2 separate regions of the Homo sapiens genome follow, and region 1 is linked to region 2. The links are contacts of gene promoters, found by promoter capture Hi-C in human tissues and cell types (Jung and others, 2019). All regions are on one chromosome and are shown on one strand. The core of a region is centred on a gene start or on the middle of the fragment in contact, and the rest is flanking DNA. Distances in the headings are between cores, read along the strand shown.

Evidence for each region. Contacts are between HindIII fragments. The study calls those that stand out against the background at their distance.
Region 1: a contact is called between the fragment with the promoter of ACTR1B here and a fragment that was not itself captured in region 2, in 5 of the 25 tissues and cell types used here (adrenal gland, dorsolateral prefrontal cortex, heart right ventricle and 2 more).

The regions. Positions count from the first base shown.
Region 1 is chr2:97,659,947-97,665,423 of GRCh38, forward strand. It overlaps ACTR1B (actin related protein 1B), which reads right to left and starts at 4,098. Exons shown (of 11, transcript NM_005735.4): 1 at 3,897-4,098; 2 at 1,936-2,000; 3 at 625-700. The coding sequence starts at 3,944. It overlaps LOC124900516 (U4 spliceosomal RNA), which reads right to left and starts at 4,785; the gene lies at 4,645-4,785. It also overlaps a transcript of C2orf92 not described here and the pseudogene RNU4-8P. RefSeq lists enhancers at 2,560-3,201, 3,167-3,236, 4,277-4,616 and silencers at 3,597-3,656, 3,737-4,196. The HindIII fragment of the contact is 10,185 bases long and covers 117-5,477 here.
Region 2 is chr2:97,589,817-97,595,272 of GRCh38, forward strand. ANKRD36B (ankyrin repeat domain 36B) reads right to left here and starts at 61. Exons shown (of 44, transcript NM_001393939.1): 1 at 1-61. RefSeq lists an enhancer at 213-713 and a silencer at 506-695. The HindIII fragment of the contact is 9,129 bases long and covers 1-5,456 here.

The DNA of each region.
Region 1 (5,477 bases), core at 2,848-5,347, 72 kb after region 2:
CACCTGCCCTTCGATGTCCCCCCAGCCATGCCCCTTCTCACCTAGCACCACTTAGCTCCTCTCACCACCTCGGCTCCTACGGACCCCATCTGCGAGACCCCCACCCTCTGCACCTCCAGCTCAGGCCTCCCCTTTCTGGGCCCAGAACCACGCATGCCCCACGCCCCGGCACCCGACACAATGCTCCTCAGGCGCCTAAACTGCCCTTGGCCAAGCTCAGCTTGCTGCTCTCCCCACACCCACACATGCTCTCCTGAGGGTCTGATCAGGCCATGCAGCCCCTTGGTGGGACACTCCGGCTTCACTGTGAGAGGCGGCCCCATGGCCCTCATTAGAGCAGACGTGAAGTGTGTGTGATTCTGACTCTTATATCACTTTTTGATCAGTTCTTGGTTCTGTAGCTTCCAAATAGCTTCTAAAAGACAGGACACGATGAGCTCTACCCATGCTCCCTAGAAGAGGAACTGCTGCCCCATCTCAGGGGGAGGTGCCCCTGCACAGCACTTCCCAGCTGGAGCCTGGAGGAGGTACCCGGGAGGTCACCAGCAGAGGCCCAAGAACACATGCCATGTTCCTGCAACTGAGGACCCCACCCCCAGGGAAAGGCAGGCTCCTCGGTGTTACCTCTGCTTTTGGTCCGATGAAGAGGTCCCCCTCCAGGGCTCCAGCCATCACCCGCATGTGCTTCGGCCGCCCGACACTGTTAGGACGGATAACGTCAGCAAGGTGGGCAGGGAGCATGGCAGAGCTTGTGTCCAGAAAAACCGAAATCCAACCATAGTCGCCCAGAGGGTACCTGGCCTCCAAACACCAGGATGTGGCTGGGGGGCACAGGTTGGAACTGGGGCCTATGGGGTTCGGGGCTAGAGAGGGGGCCTAGGCAGGACGAGAAGCTCAGGGTCAGAAGGCACGGTCAGCAGAGACAGCTGCATGTCTGAGCGCCAGAACCCAGCCCTCCATGGCCCAGCCCTTGCAGAGGGTCGGCTTCCTGCAGCCACAGTGACTCAGCCCACGCTCCTGACTTCGGTGGGGCAGGGCTGCCGTCACCATCCACAGACTGAGGGAGGACAACCCCAGGAAGCTGGGTCGGGGCTCCCTTGTGCACCCTGCTCTCACTCAGTCAAGCGCCCTACCCCACTGCCAGCGCTTCTGGATCAGAGATTCAGTTCTTGGAAACTATAGGATCTGATGAGCTACCACTAAAGGCAAAGGAACCTCTAATTATACCCATGCAGTCAGAAAGGAATGCTGAAGCTCGACAGGGCGCACCATGCTAGCTCTGTCCCAGACCAGGCCGGGCTCGGGCTAGCCTGCCACTCGGGGCCTAGGATCCCCTGCTGCCCGCTGCCTTTAGGCCACTCATTCCAAAGCCTCCAGGATTTGTGAAGAGGTGCCCCTAAGGGCAACTTTCCCAATGGGCTCGTGGTGGGTGCAAGGGGCACCCCAGGCTCTCTGGGTTTGCAATTCTTATTCCCGCCCCCACCAGTACCATACAGGGCAAAGGATCCCCTCTTAACTGAAACAAGACATTTTCTAGAGTCTGAAAACAAGCCCGGCAGAAAACACTTCCAGGGAGGAAAGGGTGGCTGTGCATCTAATTCCTCACTCTTCCTGCTCCGAGTTTAGGGCTCCCCTCGGAGATGTCTCCCTTTATTCTTGCTGCTGCTACCACACCCCATCCCCAGGGAAATGCTGGTTGCTTTTCCTCCTTGCTGGCTCAACAAGACCAAAACGAGAGACTCCCAAGACAAAGGGGAACCCTAGAACGCTTGTCTTGTTCTTTCAGTGCTCTCTCAAGAGTGTCAACCTCACAAATTTGGTGTTTTCCATACAGGTCAGGGCACAAATTGTCTTCAAAGAGCCCTGTGACAGAAGGCCAATGTTCTTACAGAAGGTAAACAAAAGGACTAAGGCTGCTGCCTGAGCCACACTTACTAGTTTGGGAAACAGTATTTGGGAATCTGGTCTCCTGCAAAGCCAGCTTTAATCACCCCCGAACCCTGCAAGGAAAAACAAAGTTGAGCTGCCCACATGCACCACCAGATGAAGCCAGTCCCCCGCAATGGAGAGAGCTGGCTGCCCCGTCAAGGCAGGCCAAGGAGGAAGCCAGGGACCCTGCCAGGATCATTTACAAGTACACCTATGGTTCAAGATTGGGGGCAATTTTGTATCCCCCTGCTCTGGCAACATTTGGCAATGTCTGGCAGCTGGGGAGAGGGGACATGCAGTGGGGGATGCTATTGGCATCTAGTGGGCAGAGGCCAAGGATGCTGCTCAACATCCTACGATGCACAGGCGAGCCTGCACTACCAACAAGGAGCTAGCCCAGAATGTCAATAATATAGAGATAGAGAAACCACGAAGGGCACCTTCCTCTGCACAACTAATGGTTGGCTCCAGCAGGATTCCATAGCACATGCTACTCCCAAAAGCTAGAAGAAACCCCTCTGTGTGGGTCTTTTTTTTTTTTTTTCAACAGCTTCCTTCTCCCCCAAGAACCCAGAAGGCATGGAACATGGACGACCTACAGGGCCTGCTGGAGAAGACCAATGGGTGCATGGGATGACCGGCAGCTTCCCTCAAGTGGCTTCCCAGAGACTACTAGGAGAACTTGGTCCTATCGCTGCCCCCACCTGGAAGCTGGACTTAAGGATCCCCCAAAGAACGGGGCAATTAGAAACCTCCCACCCAGCGAAGGGATAAGCTTCTCAACTCAGTCCCACCACTCTTCATCGCAACCCTCTGAGTCTGCAGCAGAAACAAACATCTCCAAGTTACAGAGGAGGGGATGGAATCCCCAAGGGGCCGAGCGGTAGCCCTTTTAACTTATAAGCCTGTTGATTAGCCTATACGAGTTATTTGCACGTCAAGAAAGGAAGTAGCCTGCTCCTTCCTGCAGCGTCCTGCTGGTGTGACAGCACGTCCCCAAGCTCAGTGCTAACCTCCTTATTAAACATCCCCTGCTGTGACTCAGGGAACCCACATGGGTACTCTAAAACAGTCATTCAGGGACCCCACGGGGTCATGTGGGAGGGAGACAGATCCCAGAAAGAGCACAAGTGAGTCATTACCAAAAACTCCAAGGCCCGCACACCGGACGCACATACCCAGCTAGGGGCAGACTCAAAGATCCCAGCCCTTATCTTCTCCCCATATCAGAGCTCGGAAGCCAGAAATCTTCCTAAGGCAGGTGAAAGCAAGCCGAGCCCCACTGCTGAAGGACAAAGCCACAGGAAGCCTGATGACATCTTTCCTCTGAGGCTTCCAAACGATCACCCCAAATTGCTTGCTGATACTGGGAAGAGTGGCCATGAACTCTCCATTGCTCTGCTGGCTGTGGAATGTTTGCTCAGCACAGGAAGCATTTAAGGAGAAAGTCAAAGTAGCCAAAAGGCAAACCAGATGGTGGTGGACATGTGGGTGACAGAGCATCCTGCATTTGTTGCCTCGGGGTGCAGCCCCAAAGATAAAGCCAGCAGTGTGCAAATGACAAATGCTACCCCACCTCCGCCAGGCAGCCAGAGCCAGGGCCGAAGGACGCGGAAAGGAACTGGTGTGGAAACCTGCCCAGGAACCGCACTCTCAACTGAGAAGAGTCCGGGGCGCGTCCCCGCCCGGCCGCCCGGCTGTCACTCAAGCTCTCCTGAACTTCCCCGCCCGACTCGGGGAGGGGTCGGGGAAGAGGCTCTGCGACGCGGGCGAGGGGGCTCGCCCCATGGCCGGCCTTACAAGGCCAAGAGGGCGCGCGCCCCCGGGGCGAAGCCAGCGGCCCGGCGGGGGCGACGGCCACGCAGTGAGCGGAGGACGCGCCGAGGCGGGCGGGGGTCTCTCCCTGCGCCGCCGCGTGCGCCCCCGGGGGCGGGGCGCCCGCCCTCCCCCTGGCTGCCGGGCCTCACGTTGTCGATGACCACAGGCTGGTTGGCGATGATGTCGTAGGACTCCATGGCCGGGCCGCGCCGGCCCTGCCCAGCAGGCGGGCTGCAGGAGGCACCGGATGGGCGGGCGGGCGGGAGGACCGGGACGGCGGCGGCTCCCGACGCGGCGCCGCTGCCCTCCCTCCCCGAGCCTGCAGCCTACGCGAGCCCCGCGGGGCTTTCTGGAGGGCGGGCCCGGCGGCCAATCATCGCTCCCACCTGGCCCGATTGACAGCAGGTGCCCGGGGCTGGCTGCGCGAAGGGGGCGGGGCCTCCGGAGGCTGGCCAGCCAATTGAGGTCGTCCGGAAAAAAGTGGTCGCGGCGTTGCCAAGGTAGGCTGCGCAGTGTCTGGGATGATGTCATGGCTCCGTCTTAAAGGGGACGCGGGCGGCAGAAAGTGGAGCTGGGCTGGTGTGCGCGCGGCCGGAGTCTGTGGAGCTGGAAATTCACCGGTCCAGGAAGACGTCTTTCCCGCGTCCCAGCACCGGTCCAGAAAGACGTCTTTCCCGCGTCCCAGCACCTCGGGCCACGCTCCTTCGTGAGAGCGCCCTCTCCAAGGAGGCCGGCCCTGGATATTTCACCCAAAATATTTATTTTTTCTTTTTTTCTAGGTAAGGTGTCTTGCTCTGTCGCTCAGGCTGGAAATCTTGGGCTCAAGCGATCCTCCCGCGCCAGCCAGTAGGGGGGACTACAGGCGCGCACCATATTTATTTATTTTTACTGAAATAGTCTCCGTAGAGACTGTTAAAAATTGCCGATGTCGACTATATTGCAAGTCGTCACGGTGGGGTATTGCGAAAAGTTTTCAATTAGCAATAATCGCGCTTCGGATAAACCTCATTGGCCACCATACGGCCACCGCGCAACGCTAGCTAATTAAAAAAAATTTTTTTTGTAGAGAAGGGATCTCGCTATGTTCCCCGGGCTAGCCTCGAACTCCTGAGCTTAAGCGATCCTCCCGCTTAGTCTTTCCAAAGCGTTGGGATTACAGGCGTCAGCTATTGCGCACGGCCCCATAATATTTCCTCGTTGAGCACTGAAGAAAAGATCCTTTTCCTTATAAAAATTACAGTTTCGTGGTATTTTGGTCCTGGCATTTATTGAGCACCTGCTCTGTGCCTGCGGAGCACTTCTGCCCACTTTACATAAGTTATATTAAATCCTTGCAACAATATCAGGTAGTTGTATTATTACTCCCATTTTTCAGTCAGGGTCTTCACACTTTGGTAACCTGCCCAAGATTATTGGGTGTGGAATTGGCATGCAGGTAGCCCCCTGCGGCACTGGAGTCAGCTGCTTCAAGAGTGCAGGATAGTTGAGTTCTACATTTGTTTACCAAACGGATCCATAGTTATTTCCCTGTATATATACCTCTCCCAATGGGTTGTGAGCATAAAATTTGTAAAATTGAAGCGGGTGTGCAGAAATCACAAGTGTACATGTACATTTCAATGAATGATTAAAATGTGGACACACTTGCATAACCACCGAGTTCAAGAAACAATATTGTTGCTGGAAAAGGGGTCCCGATCCAGACCCCAAGGGAGGGTTATTGGATCTTG
Region 2 (5,456 bases), core at 552-3,051:
CACGGACCTCCGCGCAGACTCTCAGCGCCTCCCGCCTCTCCGCAGAAACGCCCAACAGAAGGGTTAGAACCAGCGAGCACGCGCACCTTAGCCGGCCCTGCCCAACAGGCCCGAGGCAGAGAAACCGCCCTAGCAGCTCTCGCGCGCCCGGTGCAGGCGGCGGTTGCTGCGGAGGTGCCGCGGGAGGGCGGGGCTCCCTGGAGCGCGAGGCGCGCCCTGCCCCAGGGCCTGTTTAACTGTCGCCCGCGCGCTCTTCTCTTCCACAGGCTCCCGACGCTCGGAGCCCCCCGCGCTGGGCCCTCTGCAGCCCAGGGATGGGGTTGAGTGGTGCTTCTCCGCCTAGTGCCACCGCTGGGCCCACAGCCCGACATCGCCACTGCGTCGCCCCCGGGGTCCGCGCTGATGGGTGCGAGGCGGGAGGACGGTATCCGGGGTTGCCACAGCTGCAGCCAGCGCACCACTTGCAGGCGGCACTGCAGCTCGGGCTCCGGCGGGGGCTGGCGGGGCTCCCGTGGGATGGCCTCCTGAGCCCTGAGTGCGCCGCCATCCGGCCGGAGGGTGCGCGCCTCCTGCACCCCCGGCCGAAGCCCATGCCCGGCGCTCCTGCCGCAGACTGCCTGACTTGCCGCGGCCAGGCTGGCCCCGGGGTCCGCGCGGCTGGAGGCGCAGGCCTGGTCGGGGATTCCCAATCCTCGGGGACCCCTGCTCCATGTGCTGGTGGCGGCTGCAGCTGCAGCGCCCGTGGGCTGACGTGGCTTCCCGGAGCTGCGGCCGGCCGCGCCCAAAGGCCCCATAGGCTGCGCTGCCCTTGCCAGCTGCTCCTGACCCACGCCCAGAGCGCAGGACCTGGCGCTTGGCACTCCGCAGCCACCGGGATGAGGCTGAGCGCCGGTTTTCGGCCTCGTGGCGCCGCTGGGGCCACAGCCTGACTTCACCACCCCGTCGCCCAAGTCCTGTGATGGGCAGGTGTGAGGAGGGGCAATCGGGGTTCCCAAGGCTGCTGCTGCCTGCATGCCACTCCGTGAGGAAGTTGAAATACGTGATCTCTAAGAGTCCTCCCAGTTCTTCACCTAAGACAAATATAAATCAAGTAACATTCGCTATTGTGATTAGAAAAGCTGCATTTACAGACGTTAGCCACTAGATGGGGACGTGCGATTGTTACAGGGCTGAAGGCCTATTTATTTTTTATTTGGCCGCTAGAGGGCACGCCTGCACTGCACTTAAAGTTGACTACTTTTAAGGAAAGACAAAAGAATTCTTGGATTTCTCCATTTTCCTCATCACCTGTGCTTATCAGAGAATTCCAGGGGCAAGCTACCCTTTCCAATTCATCACTAATTTATAAACAAAATTCTAAGGAGTAAGGAATGCTTCTTACTTCCTATAACATATGTAAGAATGAACGCTCAAAATAAAAGTAATTTATTTAAAACTTGTGTTGAGTAATTATAACTGCAAAATTTTTGCCCATGTTTTTCATATGCTGTTCATTTGCAAATTATTAGAAATCTACATATTCTGTTCATCTCAGCATTATTTATAACAGGGAAAAATTAGACACTAGCCAAAAATCTAAAAACAGGGAACAGTAAGGAAAAAGCAAATGGTTCTTTAATCATCATCACTAAAAGTGGTTGTGACTTAAAATAATGACATAAAAGATGCTTCTCCGCTGTTGAGTAAAACATCAGGATAAATTTAAAATTCTATTTCAAGCTTAACTATATTCATTTAAAAAGAGAAAAGAAATTTTAGAGAGTTTATCTTGTTGGATTATCAGATGTTATTTTTCTCTTTTTAATGCCATATACTTTTCAAATTTTCAGTGGGCTGCTATTACTTTTGTATTTAAAAAAGAAAAATATAAGGAAAAAGAAACCTGTCACACACTTTCTAGTGGATTTTACTGATCAGTCATCTCTGTATTTCTGGCATCACAAACTGAGCCAGAAACTCAGTGCCTCCCATTTCTTTTTTTTTTTTTTTTTTAGACGGAGTCTTGCTCTGTCGCCCAGGCTAGAGTGCAGTGGCTCAAACTTGGCTCGCTGCAACCTCTGCCTCCCAGGTTCAAGTGATTCTTCTGCCTCAGCCTCCCAAATAGCTGGGATTACAGGTGCCCGCCACCACACCCGGCTAATTTTTGTATTTTGGTAGAAACAGGGTTTCACCATCTTGACCAGGCTGGTCTCGACTCCTGACCTTGTGATTCACCGGCCTCGGCCTCCCAAAGTGCTGGGATTAACAGACCTGAGCCACCGCGCCAGGCCAAGTGCCTCCCATTTCTTGTATTCACCTTTAAAACTCCTGCAATGAAGGACTCCCTCCTCCCTCATCTAACCTATTATGTGTGTGGTGAGTTCTGACTATGATATCATTCCTGATGTGAAACCGAAGTCTCTCTCTTCTAAGTCCATCCATTGGTTCAGTTCTGCCTTCTGACAGAGTCCACGCCAGACTTCACATTTCTCCCAATCTTCTTTGTCCTACAAGGGCTTTCTATTCTTCAAGCTAAAGAGATACCAGTGATTCCATTCGTTCATTCAGTTAACATTTAGGGGCCACATCTTGTGCTATGTCCTGAGATTTGCCAATGAGCAGAGCTCAGAGTATTGAAAAGACAAACACATACACCAGGCATTTTACTATGCTGTGTTGTGTGTATGACAGGAGCACACAGGGCATCCAGGCACCAGTGAGAAGGGCCTTTCACCAGACTTGAGAGGTCAGCAAAGGTGCTCTGAGGAAACACCTTCTAAACTGAGAGCTGGAAAGAGTGAGGCAGGAAAGCAGTAAGAGGTAGCGTTCTGAGGAGGAAATCTCCGAGGTGGGACAGGGATGCGTATGGAGAGAATGCCCTTCCCATCCCCACTCTTCATGAAATCTCTACTCTGTCAGGGTCTCTCTGCCCTGTGAGCTGCTTGAGGACAAAGACTGTTTTATAAAAATTTTTATTTCCTCCCTCTGTCTTCCTTAAACACCTAGCCCAGTGCCTGGAACATAAGAAGCCATAATGAATTTTTGTTAGATGAGTGAAGAGTGCTGAGTAGAGCAGAAATGTCACATGCCTCAGTTTAAATATGGGTCATCAGTTTTCTTTCTTTTTTAACATAGAAGTCAAGACTTGATCTCTTACAGCTTCGAGATACCGTTAAAGATATAATCATCCTCATGTATTTGAGCTTTGTTTTCACCCATTATGTTATGACTGCTGTCCATTGTTCCATGACACAATTCTCCATCTTTCTTCATTTTCTTCCATTTCAATTAACTCATTTATTTACATGTGGGAATGGAACATATAACGTAAAATCCACAAGTAAGACTTCCCAGATCCTCAGCTTCTTTCTCTGGCATTAGCCACTGTTTCTACTTTCATGAGCATCTGCTATGGTTTGAATGTATCCCCTCCAGAAATCAAATATTACAAATGTGATAGTATTAAGAGGTGGGGCCTTTTGGGAGGTGATTAGGCTATGAGGGCTCTGCCTTCATGAATAGGATTAGATATGCTTAGAAAAAGGAATGATGGAGGAAGTTAGACTCCTTTTGCCCTTCAGTCTCCTGCCATGTGAGGACACAGCACTCCTCCTCTCTGGAAGATGCAGCCTTCAAGGCGACATCTTGGAAACAGAGACCAGACACTCACCTGACAATGAATCTAATGGCCCCTGGATTTTGGACTTCCCAGCCTCCAGAACTGTGGAAAAAACAAATTTCTGTTCTTTATAAATTACTCAGTCTATGGTATTCTTTTATAGCAGCCCAAAACAGACAAGACTCTAGGAAATCAATTTGTATTCAGCACATCAACAAAATTCTTTACAAATGGGACCCCCCAATAGGTGGGTGTCACTAAAGAGAGGTGCCCATAAGCATGAGACAATGACCACGTGGCATGAGCAACGAACTACGATGAATGAGCACATGTTACCACCACTAAAGAAAAAACTTACATGACTAGATGACAACAAAATAATTTCTTATAATGAATTTCTCATTGTATTTTTTCTTAACCTTCCCTCCATTTAGTCAGGAATCTGGCTCTGACTCACACCTGAAGGACAGACAAGGACTTTTGTTTCCAAAAGCATAAACTGAAAGGAGAACTCGCAGAGTCTACAGAAAAGAGAAAAGACATTTGTCAACAGGGAGTGTTTATTTATCTTTTTTAACTGGAGGGAAAGAGCAGGGATGAGGAGAGGAGATGCCTTCGGTATTGGAGAAAAACAATATTGTAGAGTTTTCCATCCTGGTACTAATAAAATTATAAAGGCCAATAAGAAATGACTGATAGCAATAAAACAAGGAAAGGGGCATAGCCTAATACAGTAAAGAAACTGGTGACTCAAAGAGAGAAAGGAAAAGAACATTCTGGAGCAAAATAGAGAGGGACAGCATTTAGCTCCTAAGTTCCTCTTCCGTCCTCCAGCCCCACCCTCCACATCCACCTCCAAATCCGGTGATTTTGAGCATAGTGAAGCACACTGACACTGAAGGGTGTCCTTATACGATCCTCCCCTTGCTGGTGACTGGTGGAAACAGATGCTGGGGAGAAACAGGAGAAACAAGGTGGAGGGACATCAGGGTGCACTTCCTCTAAGAGAAGTCAAGGCTACACATGGAATGAGGAAAGCAATCCAATGCCCAGGGGAGTCCTCATGGTACTGAAACAGGAAGAGCCATCTGTTGCCCAAGCATTCTAACCAATGCTCAGAGCCCTCAGCTGCCCTTTCCCTCTACTGCCTCCCCATTCCCTTGGGCTACCAGGAAAAGTGGAGATGTTAATGGGCTCCAATCAAAGGCCACCATGAACACACCTGTAGTTGAAGAAGTGAGTTATTACTGGTTAAGTGAGGGAGAATACAAACTACAGGGAACGGTGGGGTGTCTCACTAAGAGGACAACAGAAAGGACTTAGAAGATTTGGGGTTGTGTTAGGCAATAATCTGGGAGAAGGGTTTAAGGAAATGGGGCTTCGTTCTGAATTGGGTGTTGTCACGAAGTGGGGGTAATTCTAGCATAGTAGGGTATCTTAATAAATCTTATGTGGAAAGATGTAAACCTGCATTAAAGCCTTAATGGGTTAAGGCTATAATTGGTAAAGAACGTTAAAGCTGTAGTTGGTGAAGAAACAGTAGTTACTCATCTTAGCTAGAATAGAGACACATTGGTCATTTGTGTGATATGAACAATGCTCATGCTTTGCTCATGCTCAGACATGATTATGAAGAGGTCTTGTTTTTGTCTTAAGTATTGGCACAAAATGATATGGTCTGAAGCAGATGTTCTATGGAATTGTTTATGCTCACAAGAGAACATCAACATCCATCTGTGGGTGCCAGGCAGCTCACAGCATCGCCAATGCCCAGCAGATAGGACCAGGTCAACTCCTGGCTGCCAGACACACCTCTTCTCTTTCTCAGAGGAACACAAAGTACCCAATGCTCATTCTG